5 separate regions of the Homo sapiens genome follow, and all the other regions are linked to region 4. The links are contacts of gene promoters, found by promoter capture Hi-C in blood cells and fetal thymus (Javierre and others, 2016). All regions are on one chromosome and are shown on one strand. Each heading gives the region's core, a stretch centred on a gene start or on the middle of the fragment in contact. The rest is flanking DNA. Distances are from core to core; before and after follow the strand shown. Region 1 has its middle 41 kb from the start of PTP4A1. Region 2 overlaps EYS (eyes shut homolog). Region 3 overlaps PHF3 (PHD finger protein 3). Region 4 holds the start of PHF3 (PHD finger protein 3). Region 5 overlaps EYS (eyes shut homolog).

What was found. The method cuts DNA at HindIII sites, captures the fragments that hold promoters and counts their contacts. A CHiCAGO score of 5 or more calls a contact.
Region 1: a fragment that was not itself captured here is called in contact with the fragment with the promoter of PHF3 in region 4 in 3 of 17 cell types (total CD4 T cells, naive CD8 T cells and activated CD4 T cells); the score reaches 6.8 in total CD4 T cells.
Region 2: a contact is called between a fragment that was not itself captured here and the fragment with the promoter of PHF3 in region 4, in 7 of 17 cell types (naive CD8 T cells, non-activated CD4 T cells, naive CD4 T cells and 4 more). The highest score is 11.7, in naive CD8 T cells.
Region 3: a contact is called between a fragment that was not itself captured here and the fragment with the promoter of PHF3 in region 4, in 16 of 17 cell types (non-activated CD4 T cells, naive CD8 T cells, total CD8 T cells and 13 more). The highest score is 39.5, in non-activated CD4 T cells.
Region 5: a fragment that was not itself captured here is called in contact with the fragment with the promoter of PHF3 in region 4 in 10 of 17 cell types (non-activated CD4 T cells, total CD4 T cells, naive CD8 T cells and 7 more); the score reaches 28.9 in non-activated CD4 T cells.

Annotation. Positions count from the first base shown.
Region 1 is chr6:63,530,108-63,532,807 of GRCh38, forward strand. It overlaps a transcript of LGSN not described here and a transcript of PTP4A1 not described here. Among named protein-coding and RNA genes, the nearest start is that of PTP4A1, 41 kb to the right of the region's middle. The HindIII fragment of the contact is 3,557 bases long and covers 1-2,700 here.
Region 2 is chr6:63,748,390-63,751,089 of GRCh38, forward strand. All of the region lies in intron 41 of EYS (eyes shut homolog), which reads right to left. Among named protein-coding and RNA genes, the nearest start is that of SCAT8, 57 kb to the right of the region's middle. The HindIII fragment of the contact is 2,810 bases long and covers 1-2,700 here.
Region 3 is chr6:63,705,178-63,707,877 of GRCh38, forward strand. PHF3 (PHD finger protein 3) reads left to right here. Exons shown (of 16, transcript NM_001370348.2): 12 at 852-1,047; 13 at 1,552-1,699. Among named protein-coding and RNA genes, the nearest start is that of PHF3, 71 kb to the left of the region's middle. The HindIII fragment of the contact is 1,556 bases long and covers 612-2,167 here.
Region 4 is chr6:63,634,546-63,637,245 of GRCh38, forward strand. PHF3 (PHD finger protein 3) reads left to right here and starts at 1,257. Exons shown (of 16, transcript NM_001370348.2): 1 at 1,257-1,605. RefSeq lists enhancers at 1-482, 1,014-1,834 and silencers at 1,052-1,411, 1,852-2,031. The HindIII fragment of the contact is 3,030 bases long and covers 237-2,700 here.
Region 5 is chr6:63,726,201-63,728,900 of GRCh38, forward strand. EYS (eyes shut homolog) reads right to left here. Exons shown (of 43, transcript NM_001142800.2): 42 at 319-480. Among named protein-coding and RNA genes, the nearest start is that of SCAT8, 79 kb to the right of the region's middle. The HindIII fragment of the contact is 8,279 bases long and covers 1-2,700 here.

The sequences.
Region 1 (2,700 bases), core at 50-2,549, 100 kb before region 4:
GAAAATCAATCCAAAGAAACTGACAGAAGGAAGTCAAATTGGAACCATCCAAAATGATATAACAATGAAATGTGATCATTAAAACAGCCATGAAGTTAATTTACTTAACACTTTTTTTTCATACACTGGAGTCAGCAGATTATTCCAAGGTGAAGAAAAGGCATAGATGTAACCTTGTAAGAGGACAGCTGTGAGACACAGCTACAGACAAAGCCAGCCTGAGAAAAAGCACAAAGGCTGAATATTAAATTTATATGATGGTACTGGAAGGCAGCCAGGAGTGGTTTGCCCTGCCTTTTATTCCCAAATCTGTAGTTGGGATGGTACCATAAGATGCTCTAGGTAAACATGAAGGCTTAGACGCCCAGATGTAAATGGCTGCCTCATACAGTCACACAGGCTATTTACTGCACAACTCCAGTGGACGCCGTTCACATAGGCTACAATGTGAAAAAAGCCCCCTGAATTTGTGAACATGGAGGCCCTTCTGTGCTAAATCACTAGGGTCATAGGGAATAATAGAAAAAAAGGAGAAGATAAAATTGTATTAAACTATCATAAAGATTTTTTCAAATAAAACATATACATAGAAAAATGATCAGAAGGAAGTACATCAAAATGAAATTTCTAGAGGCATACCTGAATTCATTTTTTCTTATTCCTAGTCTTCTGTATTTTAACATTGAATAAATCAGCAGTTTTAAAATAAATTAACATTTAATAAAGTAGTACCTTAAAACATCCAAATTGATACTTTCTTATAGCTTCAATGCTATAAACTATCAGAGATGTAATGATTAGAATGGTTTCCATACCAATGGAAAATCCTTTAGAAAAATGAGCACTATTTTTCTACATTTGTTTGCATTTTAACCTAGCTTTATAATTTCAACTATTCAACTAAATATAAGAATGAGCTTTGCTTGTGAAAATTCTGATATTATAAATACTAGAGAACTTCTATATTGTGTGTCCAAAGATAGATCAGGTTTCAAGCACAGTTCCCTCAGTCTCCAAAGTCCTCTCAGTTCTGCCTGCCTCTTGAGTTGGTGTCCATCAAGATAACTGCAAGCAATGAGGGCTACCTGCTTCCTGGTTCACAGCCAATGGGCAGAGACTGTCCACCTCTAAACTAATCACAGACTAAGAAGAGGATTTGGTTTAATTAGTGGGGAATAGATGGAATGAAGGGCAAATACCGATTTGTGAGGCCTGTAACATTTTCAGTCTGGGGGTTCTCTTTAACTAAAACAATAAAAAATTTATTCCAAAAATGAACATTTATTTGGAAAGAAAAAACATAACAAATTATAATTTTTAATGCAAAATGCCTACATAGACATCACAAAATCCAGAAGAGATAATGTAATATTTGTATTAAGTTCCTGACCCATATCTATTATGCTTTTTTTTTTTTTTTTTTTTGTAAATGCAGTGGTGCCTGCCATCTTAGCTCACTGCAGCCTCAACCTCCTGGACTCAGGCAATCTTCCTCTCTCATCCTCCTGAGTAGCTGGGACTATAGGCACGAGCCACCATGCTTGATCAATATTTCATACTTTTTTGTAGGGATGGGGTTTTACCATGTTGCCCAGGCTGGTCTTAACTACTGGACTCAAGTGACCCACCTGTCTTGGCCTCCCAAAGTGCTGTGATTACAGGCATGAACCACCATGTCCAGCCTCCCATAACACTTTTATCTGCATGTTTATGGCCACATACACTTTTTTTTTTTTTTGAGACAGAGTCTTGCTCTATCACCCAGGCTCACTGCAACCTTGCCTCCCGGGTTCAAGCAATTCTCTGCCTCAGCCTCCCGAGTAGCTGGAATTACAGGCATCCACCACCATGGCTGGTTAATTTTTGTATTTTTAGTAGAGACGGGGTTTCACCATCTTGGTGAGGCTGGTCTTGAACTCTTGACCTTGTGATACACCCACCTCGGCCTCCCAGAGTGCTGGGATTACAGGCGTGAGCCACCACGCCCGGTCAACCACATACTCTTTGATTGCCTCTTCTTATGACAACTTTATAATAGTTAATAAAGAAAAAATTAGAAATAACAATTCAATCTTTCCTCTCACATATATAATTGAAATTGTTACTGAAATTTTGAAAACTTTCTTCTAGTGTCACAATTTATTATGAGTGAAGTCATACAAATTTTCAGGAATATTGTCAAATTTTGGTAAATCTCTATTAAGTTGTTTTTTGATCTTTTCCTATAAGATTTTCCACAGTTTAGCTTCTGGATTCATACCTCTCAAATCTTGAATCTCCTCTATGCTCACATACTACCAGTACCAGCCACAGGACCTGCTCATGGCTGCATACATCCTATGTATGGGTCAGCACAGCACAGTGGATGGTAGGACTATTTCTGGAAGCCTTTTCTATACCAAGGCAGCTAGCTGTACATGGAGGTAGGTGCAAACCAGGTAAATAAATGCCATTAAATCCACAAAAAAAAAATCTCCCCATTCACTATCCCCTTATTAAATCTCAAAAATGTCCTATGCCACTGTACAGCTTTCAACCGAAGAGCAAGTATGATGGAGGGGAGGAAGTTGGAGAGTGAAACAAAAATCAATCATATTATAACTATGAGAGTTAAAATATTTTATTGTTACAAATTTTCCAAAAACACATGAGCATGTTCAATCAGTATCTAGGCCCCAAAAGATTGAATTCTATTTGGGA
Region 2 (2,700 bases), core at 123-2,622, 110 kb after region 4:
AGTGCTTTTTTGAGGATTTTTGCATCAATGTTTATCAAGGATATTGGCTTAAAGTTTTCTTTTTTGTTGTATCTCTGCCAGATTTTGGTACCAGGATAATGCTGGTCTCATAGAATGAGTTAAGGAGGAGTCCCTCCTCATCAATTTTTTGGAATAGTTTTAGTAGGAACGGTATCAGCTCTTCTTTGTACATCTGGTAGAATTCAGCTGTGAATCTGTCTGGTCCTGGGCTTTTTTTGGTTGGTAGGCTAGTTATTATTGATTTAATTTTGGAGCTCATTATTGGTCTTTTCAGGGATTCAGGTTCTTTCTGGTTCAGTCTTGGGTGGGTGTATGTATCCAGGAATTTATCTATTTTTCCTAGATTTTCAAATTTGTGTGCATAGAAGTGTTTACAATATTCTCTGATGATTATTTGTATTTCTGTGGAGTTAGTGGTAATATCCCCCTTGTTATTTCTAATTGTGTTTATTTGGATCTTCTCTCTTTTCTTCTTTATTGGTCTAGCTAGTGGTCTATTTTATTTTATTTTTTCAAAAACACAACTCCTGGATTTGTTGATCTTTTGAATGATTTTTTGTGTCTCAATCTCCTTCAGTTCAGCTCTGATTTTGGTTATTTCTTTCTTCTGCTAGCTTTGGGCTTGATTTGCTCTTGGTTCTCTAGTTCTTTTAGTTGTGATGTTAGGTTGTTAAATTGCTATCTTTCTAACTTTTTGATATGGGTGTTCAGTGCTGTAAATTATCCTCTTGACACTGTCTTAGCTGTGTCCCAGAGATCCTGGTGTGTTGTATCTTTGTTCTCATTAGTTTCAAAGAACTTCTTGATTTCTATGTTAATTTCATTGTTTACCCCAGAGTCATTCAGGAACAGGATATTCAATTTCCATGTAATTGTATGATTTTGAGCTATTTCCTTAGTCTTGATTTCTTACTTCATTGCACTGTGATCTGACAGAGTGGTTGTTATGATTTCAGTTCTTTTGCATTTGCTGAGGAGTATCTTATGTCTGATTATGTGGTCAATTTTAGAGTGTGTGCCATGTGACAATGAGAAGAATGTATATTTTGTTGTTTTTGGGTGGAGAGTTCTGTAGATGTCTGTCACGTATGTTTGATCCAGTACTGAGTTTAGGTCCTGAATATCTTTGTTAATTTTCTGCCTTGATGATCTGTCTACAGATGCTCCCATTCCAAACCCTCTGGGCTCTGTATCGGCTGATATCCTTCCCCATCACTTCTCCAAGCAGGTTTTCCTGCCAACTCAAGTGTCTGTGGTGGTCAAGGGGTCTCCTGCTGCCAGGATTCCAGAGGCCTGTGGTGAGAGTGGGTTGTTCCTTGCCAGTTCAACTCACCCATTCCCCCAGAGTCACTGGGGGTCAGGAACAAGTACTGGTGCATAGTAGCCCCCTCCAGGGGTCCCAACTTCCTCCCTCTTCAGCCTGGCTTCTGTGTCTTCCCTCAGTCTGCTCTCAGTGCCTTCCCTCTGAAGATCTGCTAGGACTGTGTGCCACTTGTCCTAGTCCCTTGGTGACAGCTGTTCCACCTGGCTGTGTCTGGTTGGCCATCTTGCCCAAATCTCTCAATAATTTTAAATGACCTGATTTCAAGTTTGCCAATTCCTTCTCCTGTCAGATCAAGTCTGCTGTTAAACCCCTATAATGAATTGTTCAGTTCAGTTTTTGTATTTTTCTGCTATAGGTTTCTGTTTTTTAATATAGTTTATTTATCTTTGTTGACAGTCTTATTTTGTTCATGCATAATTTTCCTGATTTCTTTAGTTGCCTATGTTATCTTTTTAACATATTGAGATCCTTGTGACAGTTATTTAAAATCCTTGTTAAGCAGCTCATATATCTGCATTCGTTAGGGTTGATTTCTGGAGTTTTATTTTGTCCCTTTGATTTAGTCATGTTCTGCTGTTTCTTTGTATGCCTTGTAATTTTTTGCTTGGGTTTGAGCATTTGAAAAATACCCTCTATCCCAGTTTTTATATTCTGACTTTGTACAGGAGAAGACCTTCTTTAATCAGCCCAGCTGGAAGACCTCTCAAACCCTTCTAATCTCTTACTCTCCTTGGAATCTGCCTGCTGAACTGCATTTCTAATATTCCACTCCACCTTTGTTTCCAGTGGCTTCTGAATTCTGGTGTCAATACTGTCAGCACTCTGAGTCAGGTGGTACAGAAATGAGTCCTTTGGGCAGCCCTCAGACAAGCCAGAACATTGGACTCATGTTCTACTGTTTATTTCTGTCCCAAGGGAGGAGAACTCATATAGAGGATTCCTTCCAGTTGCTCTGTGTGATGCTGCATAGAGGAAGGGGAACAAATGTGTGTGACAAATGCCGCAGATTTTCCTACACCTTTCACTGGAATTCCGTCTTTGTCTTACAATAGCCTTAGTGCTATAGATTCTCAATTGGTCTCCAGCATTATCACAGAGGAATTGTGGTCCACATATTATTGTTAATTTGGTGTCTTTGTTGGGGAAGGAGAGCCTGTAGCTTCCTAGTCTATCTATGCTGACCTGCACTTCTACTTTTAAAGTGTAACTTTTTCCTCCAAATCTAAAGCTCTGCAATATGCTTTGTGAATTTCACCACTCTTACCTTGGATGCACTAATTTTGATTATTTCAGCACATCTATTTAATCACTTTAAGTTGAACAATTCCTACTGATGGTTATTTGCTACCAAATCA
Region 3 (2,700 bases), core at 140-2,639, 71 kb after region 4:
GAGACTATTGGAATTTGGTAAAATTGTCAGAGAATTAAGAAACCTGTTTTAGGTTCTAGTAATAATATTTTCATTTTAGCTTGTCTGAGTTGTTTAACATTCTCTTCTTCTAATTTTTCACTTCACTAAGAGAGGAATTACTACCTTAGGGGTCCTCAACCCCCGGGCCACAAACCTGTACGGTCCATGGCCTATTAGGAACTGGGCCTCACAGCAGGAGGTGAGCGGTGGACGATACTGCCTGAGCTCCGCCTCCTGTCAGATGCAGTGGCGTTAGGTTCTCATAGGGGTGCAAACCCTATTGTGAACTGCACATGTGAAGGATCTAGGTTGCGTGCTCCTTATGAGAATCTAACTATTAATGCTTGATGATCTGAGGTGTAATGGTTTCATCCTGAAACCATCTCTCCCCTCATCCCACCGTCCATGGGAAAATTGTCTTCCATGAAATTGGTTGCTGGTGATAAAAAGGTTGGGGACTGCTAATCTTGTCCATATTTACTCATGATATGTTTTACATGTAGGAAATAATTATAAAGAGATTTTAAGGGGAAATTAACTTTATTACAGGTAGAACCATGCATGATTTGCTTTGAATTGCATTTCAGATAAGCTTAGGTCCCTGTATATAGAAGAGGGCTGGCAGTGGGGAGAACACTAGTGAATTTTCTGCTGATTCTTAAATGTGGTTGTGATACAACTAAATGATGACAGTTAGATATAACCCCAGGAAATGTATGGTTACTCAGCAATTGAATCATAGAACCTGAATAACTTTAGAAAGTGAAAATGGGTTAAGTTATAAAAGTTGTAGTTAACAGTTGGTTTCTTTTGATGTATTCTGGGCTTAGGTCGAATGGCACCACCTGTAGATGATCTTTCTCCAAAAAAAGTAAAAGTTGTTGTAGGAGTAGCTCGCAAACATTCAGACAATGAAGCAGAAAGTATAGCAGATGCATTATCTTCAACCTCAAATATTTTGGCTTCTGAATTCTTTGAGGAGGAGAAACAGGAGTCTCCAAAGTCAACGTTCTCTCCTGCTCCACGGTAATTTTCTCTGTTGTAAATTCTGTAATACTCATTATAGATCTTTGCCAGATTATACTTGCAAGTCTTCAAAAACAGAAAAGTGACATTTTGGGAACCTCTCATTTGAGAAAATAACTGTACTTTCCTGTACTTTGAGATAAAACAAGACTTCGAAAATAAATATATTTGGAGTGTTTTCAGTGAGAGATTGGAGCGTGTGGGGAAACAGCTTTAAAATTCTCTTTAATTATGCTGGTCCCAAAAGTCAGGGATAGATTATTAAAGACGAAATGTTTGCACTTTTCTCAATCTTAGTTCTCCTAAGCCAGCCAAGAGGGAAGATTTTGTAAAACATTACTATGTAAATATGAATGTAATTTTATAAAATGAAAGTGTGAACTCTTTGTCAATAGCCTCATATTTTGGCCTTCTTCACATGCTAAAATACGAGTAACTGATGACTAGGTAGGACATTGATTTATTCATCAGCTTGTCTTTAGGCTTTTTAATGTCATTTTCTAGTCCAGAGATGCCTGGAACTGTTGAAGTTGAGTCTACCTTTCTGGCTCGATTGAACTTCATCTGGAAAGGTTTTATCAACATGCCTTCTGTGGCAAAATTTGTTACCAAAGCCTATCCAGTATCTGGCTCCCCAGAATACCTGACAGAGGTACTGTGAACTTTTCTGCTTTTCTGTGCATGAATTGATAATGTGTGTTTCTGAAAGTAATTGACAGGGAAATAAGACAGAGTTAGTAATAGAAATATTTATTAACAATGATTTTTAAACAGTCCAAGTAATATAATTATGAATTAACAAATGGATCTTTAGAATTGTAAAATAAACTATTCTCTGAAAGTTTTAAACTCCTATGTCCTGCACTTTTCCCAAGATGTACTGCCTCACTGTGTCAGATAATTCAAAATCAATGAGAGTCTACATGGATATCCAAGTTTTTCTTTGAATACACACTTAAATAAAAGATTTACATACTTTTGGTCTTTAATGTTAACACATTAAGAATTTTTTGTTAAACAGATCTTCTGATTTCCCCACTGCTTATGTTTCCCCATCTTCATGACTACTGTTCTTACCTGCCTATTTCTGTGAATGTGGTTTATGTAGACTGGGAGTTGAAGCTTTACAGCTAGTTGAAAACCAGTGAGACTAGTGACTGTAGTTGCTGCAAGTGATACCCTTGGTTGGTTCTACACCTGAGGGAAATAGAAAGAAACTATTATGTGGTATTTATGGAAAATAAGCAGCAGTAACATTATAATATTGTGATAAATGAGACAGTGACATTTTTGAATTATTTTGAAGGAAATGTATTTTTATATGTGTATAGAAGGAAAATAAATCAGTACATATATACTGTATTTATGTTGAGATCATATTTTGCTATCTTGTTCGTATCTGACCTTTTTCATTTATTCTCTATCTGCTGATTTTAAAGAATTAAAAGATTGTAAAAAAATTCCTTTTATTATTTGAAAAAGCCTAAATCATTTGCCTGTCTTTTTTTTTTTTTTAAGGCTAACATAAACTTCACTTTTCTTTGGATTAGGCTGCAATTAGTTTAATTCAATGTAATACTGTTTATGTAATATTGATCAGTTTATTTGGTTAGCAGTTGTGGGTTTGTTTTTGTTTTTGTTTTTGTTTTTGTT
Region 4 (2,700 bases), core at 7-2,506:
AAAAAGATTGTAAAACAAAGTCTTGAGGGATTGATTAGTCAAGACAGGGGGTGAAACTCTTAAGAATCCAGTGGAATCAGGACAACCCAAACTTCCTTTGTAGAAGAGCATTTGCTATTAAGAGTGCTTAAAATATCAGAAGACTAGAGAGAGGAAAGAACAGATCTTCACCACATGCCTGTGACTTATTCTTCCACCCTGCACTAATCTTACAATGTGGGCTGCGGTTGGTCTAAAGCTTAAATCAACAAGTACTGTAAAGGTTTTAGAACAGTGCAGACCACACAGTAAGGTGCTCAGCAGGTACTGGCTGAATACTGTAATAGTCCCTGTAGATAAAAGCCACAAACCCTGTCCCTAAGTAGCTCCTTTTGGTTGGAGTGACTGACAAGCAACAATTACTTCACAGCGCTTATTAAGGGCTGAGATAGGGGTTAGCTCAAGTGTCTGTGGAAGCAGACCAGTGGGTCTCAAACTTTTTTTGTCTCTGGACCTCTACACAATATTTGTTACCACAAATAATGTATTTATGAAAAGCATATTTTCCAAATTAATAAAAGGGTGATATCTAAAATTTCTGCAGATTTCCTCAATGTCTGGCTTAATAGAAGATGGCTGGATTCTCTTATCTGTTTCTGCATTGAATCAGCTGCTATATGCTGTTTTGGTTGAAGGGTGGGAAGAAAATTTGGCCTTAGACACATGCTCCTGGCAAAGGAATGGAGGCTCTACTGAAAGGTCTTGGCGACCCCTCAGGGAAACCTGGGACCACATTCTGAAGACTGCTTACTGGATACCAAGAATGTTTCTTGGAGGTAGCAATTTGAGTCCTGAGGTAGATCAGCCATGTAGGGTGAGGGTAACGGAGGTAGTTAATGGTAAGGCTGCTGTGCCGAGCCAGCACAGATATTTGGGCAGAGGGCTCATCTACTCCATCCTATTCTACCATTCTTGAACTCACAGTCAATTAATAAAAAGTACCTGGGGTTGGGGAGCTGCGCATCAATATTATATTAACTGTGAAGCCTTAGTGCTTACTACGGTCGAGAAAAAGCGCTCCTCTGATTCGCCCCTCCCGGCGGCGCGGAGGTGTGAGCTAGAAGCCCGCAGGCGGTGCCGCGTCCTCCGAAGACAGGGAGGGGCGCGGCAACGCCGGGAAGCGCTGCAGCCCGGGGCCCCACGGAGGCGCGGCGCTCGAGGCCCTAAAGCGCGCAGGCGCGGCAGCGACGCAGGCCGCGGCCCCCGGAACGGTAAACAGTGGGGTCACGTGACACGGCCCCTCTCCAGCTCCCGCGCCGCCGCCGCACGCCGATGGCTGCGGGGTCTCGCGCCGTCGCACCGTCCCCACGCGGCAAGCGACCTTCGGGCTCAGGGCGGCGGCGGCTGCAACGAGGATTAGGAGGGCGGCGCGGAAGCCAAGAATAGTGTCGTCAGCAGCAGCCATTTGGTCCCAGGAGGAAAAGAGGCTGTGGCAGCGACGCCGACGTCCTGCGCGTACCCCCTCTCCGCGGCACCCACCGGGCCCCCTCCTCCTCCTCTTCGGCGGCGGCAGCGTCCACCATCTTCCTCTTGCTGCCAGTGGTAGCGCTCGTCTGGCGGAGCTGGGTGAGTTGCGGCTGTGGCCGCGGCCAGGGAGACGGGCAATCCTCCCCTCCCCCATCCCCTTCCACACGCACAGCGCCTCCGCGGGCCTCTCCGCCCCTCCCGCGGCGGACTCTCCGCGCTTTTCTCCCGCGCAGCCGAGAGATCGCCTCTCGGGCCTCTTGCGCAACGTCCTCGGCCTACCTGGGCCGCGCCGCTGGCGCCTGTGGACCATTTGGACCGCGGGCTGGGGAGGGAGTCGCAGCGACGCGGTCGCCAGGCGGAGGGTCGGGACCACGGCCTCTCTCCCGACCACTGGTACCCAGCCGTCTGCTGCGAGGGCGCCCCGCCGCCGCTGAGGCGCGGGCGCGCAGGCCCGAGGCACGGCGGGCGCTGCCTGGAAGGCCCGTCTCGCAGGCCCCCGGATCCGGCCGTTGGGGCCTCTTCCTTCTCAGGGAGCCCCAGCATGGAGCTTTGGGCCTTGGTTTCGGGAAACTGGGACTGGCCCTGGCTGCTAGGCTGCTCCCTGCTGCTGCTTTTTGGAGATGAGAGTTGCTCTTCCATTTATCCTCCAGTTACCGCGCGCTTTTGTGCCCGGGACTCAAACTGTGGACTCCTTTTGCTTAGTTTGAAATGAGAAGCCTAGACTCTTGCCTTCCGATAATACATGTAATTTAATGAACCACTTGTCGATACGTACGTGTTAATGGTGCTAAATAACTGATCACCTGACACGGGGGGCGGGGGCGGTGCGGAGAGTAGAAAGGAAGAGAATGTTGATATCGCGCACGGAGTCCTGTGTCCCTCCTTTCCCTCAGGATGTGTTGCCGGGTTAGGTGACCTTTTTCCATCTTTGGGCTTTTAAATGCCAATTCCTAGAGACTAGATTGGGGTGGTTATTAGTGCTTTCCAGTAGTCACGCGTAGAATATGTTCATGGATTAATGTTAAGTGGCAACACTGCTTTAATATTCTAGTCCTAATCTGCATTACATGTAGCGATATTTAATTTAAAAAGAATAATCGATTATTGAGGCTTCTCTAAATACTAACTTTACTATCTTATTTTAAGCTAAATTTAAAAACCAATGCAGTAAACTCTGTAGGGAGTACTTAAACA
Region 5 (2,700 bases), core at 134-2,633, 92 kb after region 4:
AATCTTTTATATGCATATTTTGTCTCCTTTGACATAGTACTATCGTGCATGGCTTTAATGTCTTTTTTGATGGTATTGTTTTTAAGTTGAGCATATACTATATTTAGATTTTGCAAACTTTAATTCCAACAAATCTGTTGCTATTTTATTAGAATATCTAGGGCTTCTAAATTCATACGCATACACTTGCAGTGACAATAGAACATAAAAGCATCAAATGTTTACATATTTAAATACTAGGTGACACAAACACTATCATACATTACTTAATAGACTATTAGGAATTCATTCTGCAAACAAACAGCCTGCCAATCTTACCTGATTGGGCTTTTAAGTGTTGTGCAGCATAAAATAGGATACCATCTGCAGCGAGAGGCTGAAACTGCAATTGAATATGTGTCTTTTTTCGAACATGAAAGGAAGCAAAAGACATCCAGGATAACTCATTGCTTCTGAAAGATGGATCACTTATGGATAAAGCTGAGGGAAGGAGAGAAAGAGAACTCTGGGAGTTATCTGCTGGATTAAAAAACATTGCTCATAAATACAATAAACTGCTTATGTAATTTTGTAATTTCAGGATTTATCGCCCAAGAGTTGCTTGTAGGTGAGTACATCAAACCTTGGTAACTTTGTGAGTCTGTTTTAATTCCACTAACTTTAGGGTTTTGTAACGAAGTCACTTACTGAAAAGCCTTCTCTTGCTTCTGGTAACTATGCCTTTTTGGCCGATACTATCTGACACAAATCTTCTGCTCTAGATTGCATTATATAGAGGGATCAGATGCATAGCTGAAATTCTTGGAAATGTCTTACATTTATAATGCTTTCAGAAAGTTCAAATGTTGGAAGATAGAGGACAACACTTTATAAGTTATTCTTCAGCCTCTATATTTCTGATTCAAATACAGAGTATAATTGAGTCAGGATATATTATAAGGCATAATATATTGATTTTTTTTTTTGCTTCTGTGTATAACTGACCCAATGGGAATTATGAGAGGGAGATGGAAAGTTCTGCACATTTGGCCAGTTTTTATCCCTATGAAATCTATATTCCTTCTTCTTTTCTTATAATGTTACAGTGCTTCTTAGAGTGCGCCCTGGTTCAGGACATAGCTTAGCCATTAATCTAGTTATTTAGTTTTCTCCCTGCTCTGTGGACCAGGCGTATGCTAACGGCTCCTTTTACTTTAGATTGAATAATTGGTAGGTGTTTATCCAAGAGGTGTTGGCATTTGCTGATTTTTTTTAAAAAACTGTACTCATTCATTTCGACTTATTGCTATTCAGAAGGGTAGAGGTTAGAATCACCTGATCGTGTTGCCAAGAATGCAAAGCGCTATACCTCATTCCTAGAGGGCCTGATTTATTAAAGCCAGGATGGAGGCTGGGCACGGTGGCTCACTCCTGTAATCCCAGCACTTTGGGAGGCTGAGGCTGGAGGATTGCTTGAGCTCAGGAGTTTGAGACCAGCCTGAGCAACATGGCGAAACACCATCTCTCAAAAAAAAAAAAAAAAAAAAAAAAAAAAAAAATATATATATATATGTTAGCTGGGCATGGTGGCGAATGCCTGTGGTCCCAGCTACTGGGGAGGCTGAAGTGGAAGGATCAGTTGAGCTTGGGAGGTGGAGGTGGGGGTGGAGGTGGGGGTGGAGGTTGCAGTAAGCTGAGATGGCACCACTGCACTCCAGCTTGGGCGACGGAGTGGGACCCTGTCGTAAAAAAAAAAAATGCTGGGATGGGATTCAGAAAGCATCCCCATTTTTAATAAACCCTCCTGGTGTTTCTGACATAGGGGTTCCTTGGACCACATTTTCATAAAATCTGGTTAAAATTTTAAGAACACAAGGGTGATTTAAAATGTGAGTGTCCTTTTGAAACTTTTTAAAATATTGCTAAATTAATACATGTTTATTATAAGACAAACAATATAAAAGTGTATAACATTTTTTAAGTGAAATTTCATTGTTTCTCCTCTCTTAATCCCAAGAATTACTGTTAAGTTTATTGTACATGTAGCCAGACTTTAAAAAAATACACATACAATTAACATATGCATATATCTAATACTTGATTTATTTTAAATAAAACCACATTTTATATAAACTATGCATAAGTAATTGCTTTTTTCCATCTATCTTTGTGAAACTGATATTAGCATATTTTGCCTATCACTTCTTTTAAATACATGGAAGGTATTTTTAAAAGTACACTTTATTTTTTCAGAGCCATTTTAGGTTCACTGCAAAACTGAGTGGAAAGTATTAGGGTTTCCATATACCCCTTGTCTCAACACATGCGCAGCCTTCTCCACTGTCAGTATTGCCCACTAGAGTACATTTGTTAAATGGATGACTCTATATTGACACATCATTATCACATAAGTTCATCATTTACATAGGATTCACTCTTCACGTACATTCTATGGATTTTGACAAATGCGTTGTGAAATTTATTTACCATTACAGTATCATACATAAAATCATACATCATATCCTCTTTGCTTGCCTATTTGACTCTCCCTCCACCCTGGCAACCACTGATCTTTTTTTACTGACTTCATGGTTTTGCCTTTTCCAGTATATCATATAGTTGGAATCATACAGTTTGAACACAAGTTTTCAGCTCCTTTGGACAAATACCAAGGAACACAATTGCTTGATCATATGGTAAGAGCATTTTTAGTTTTGTAAG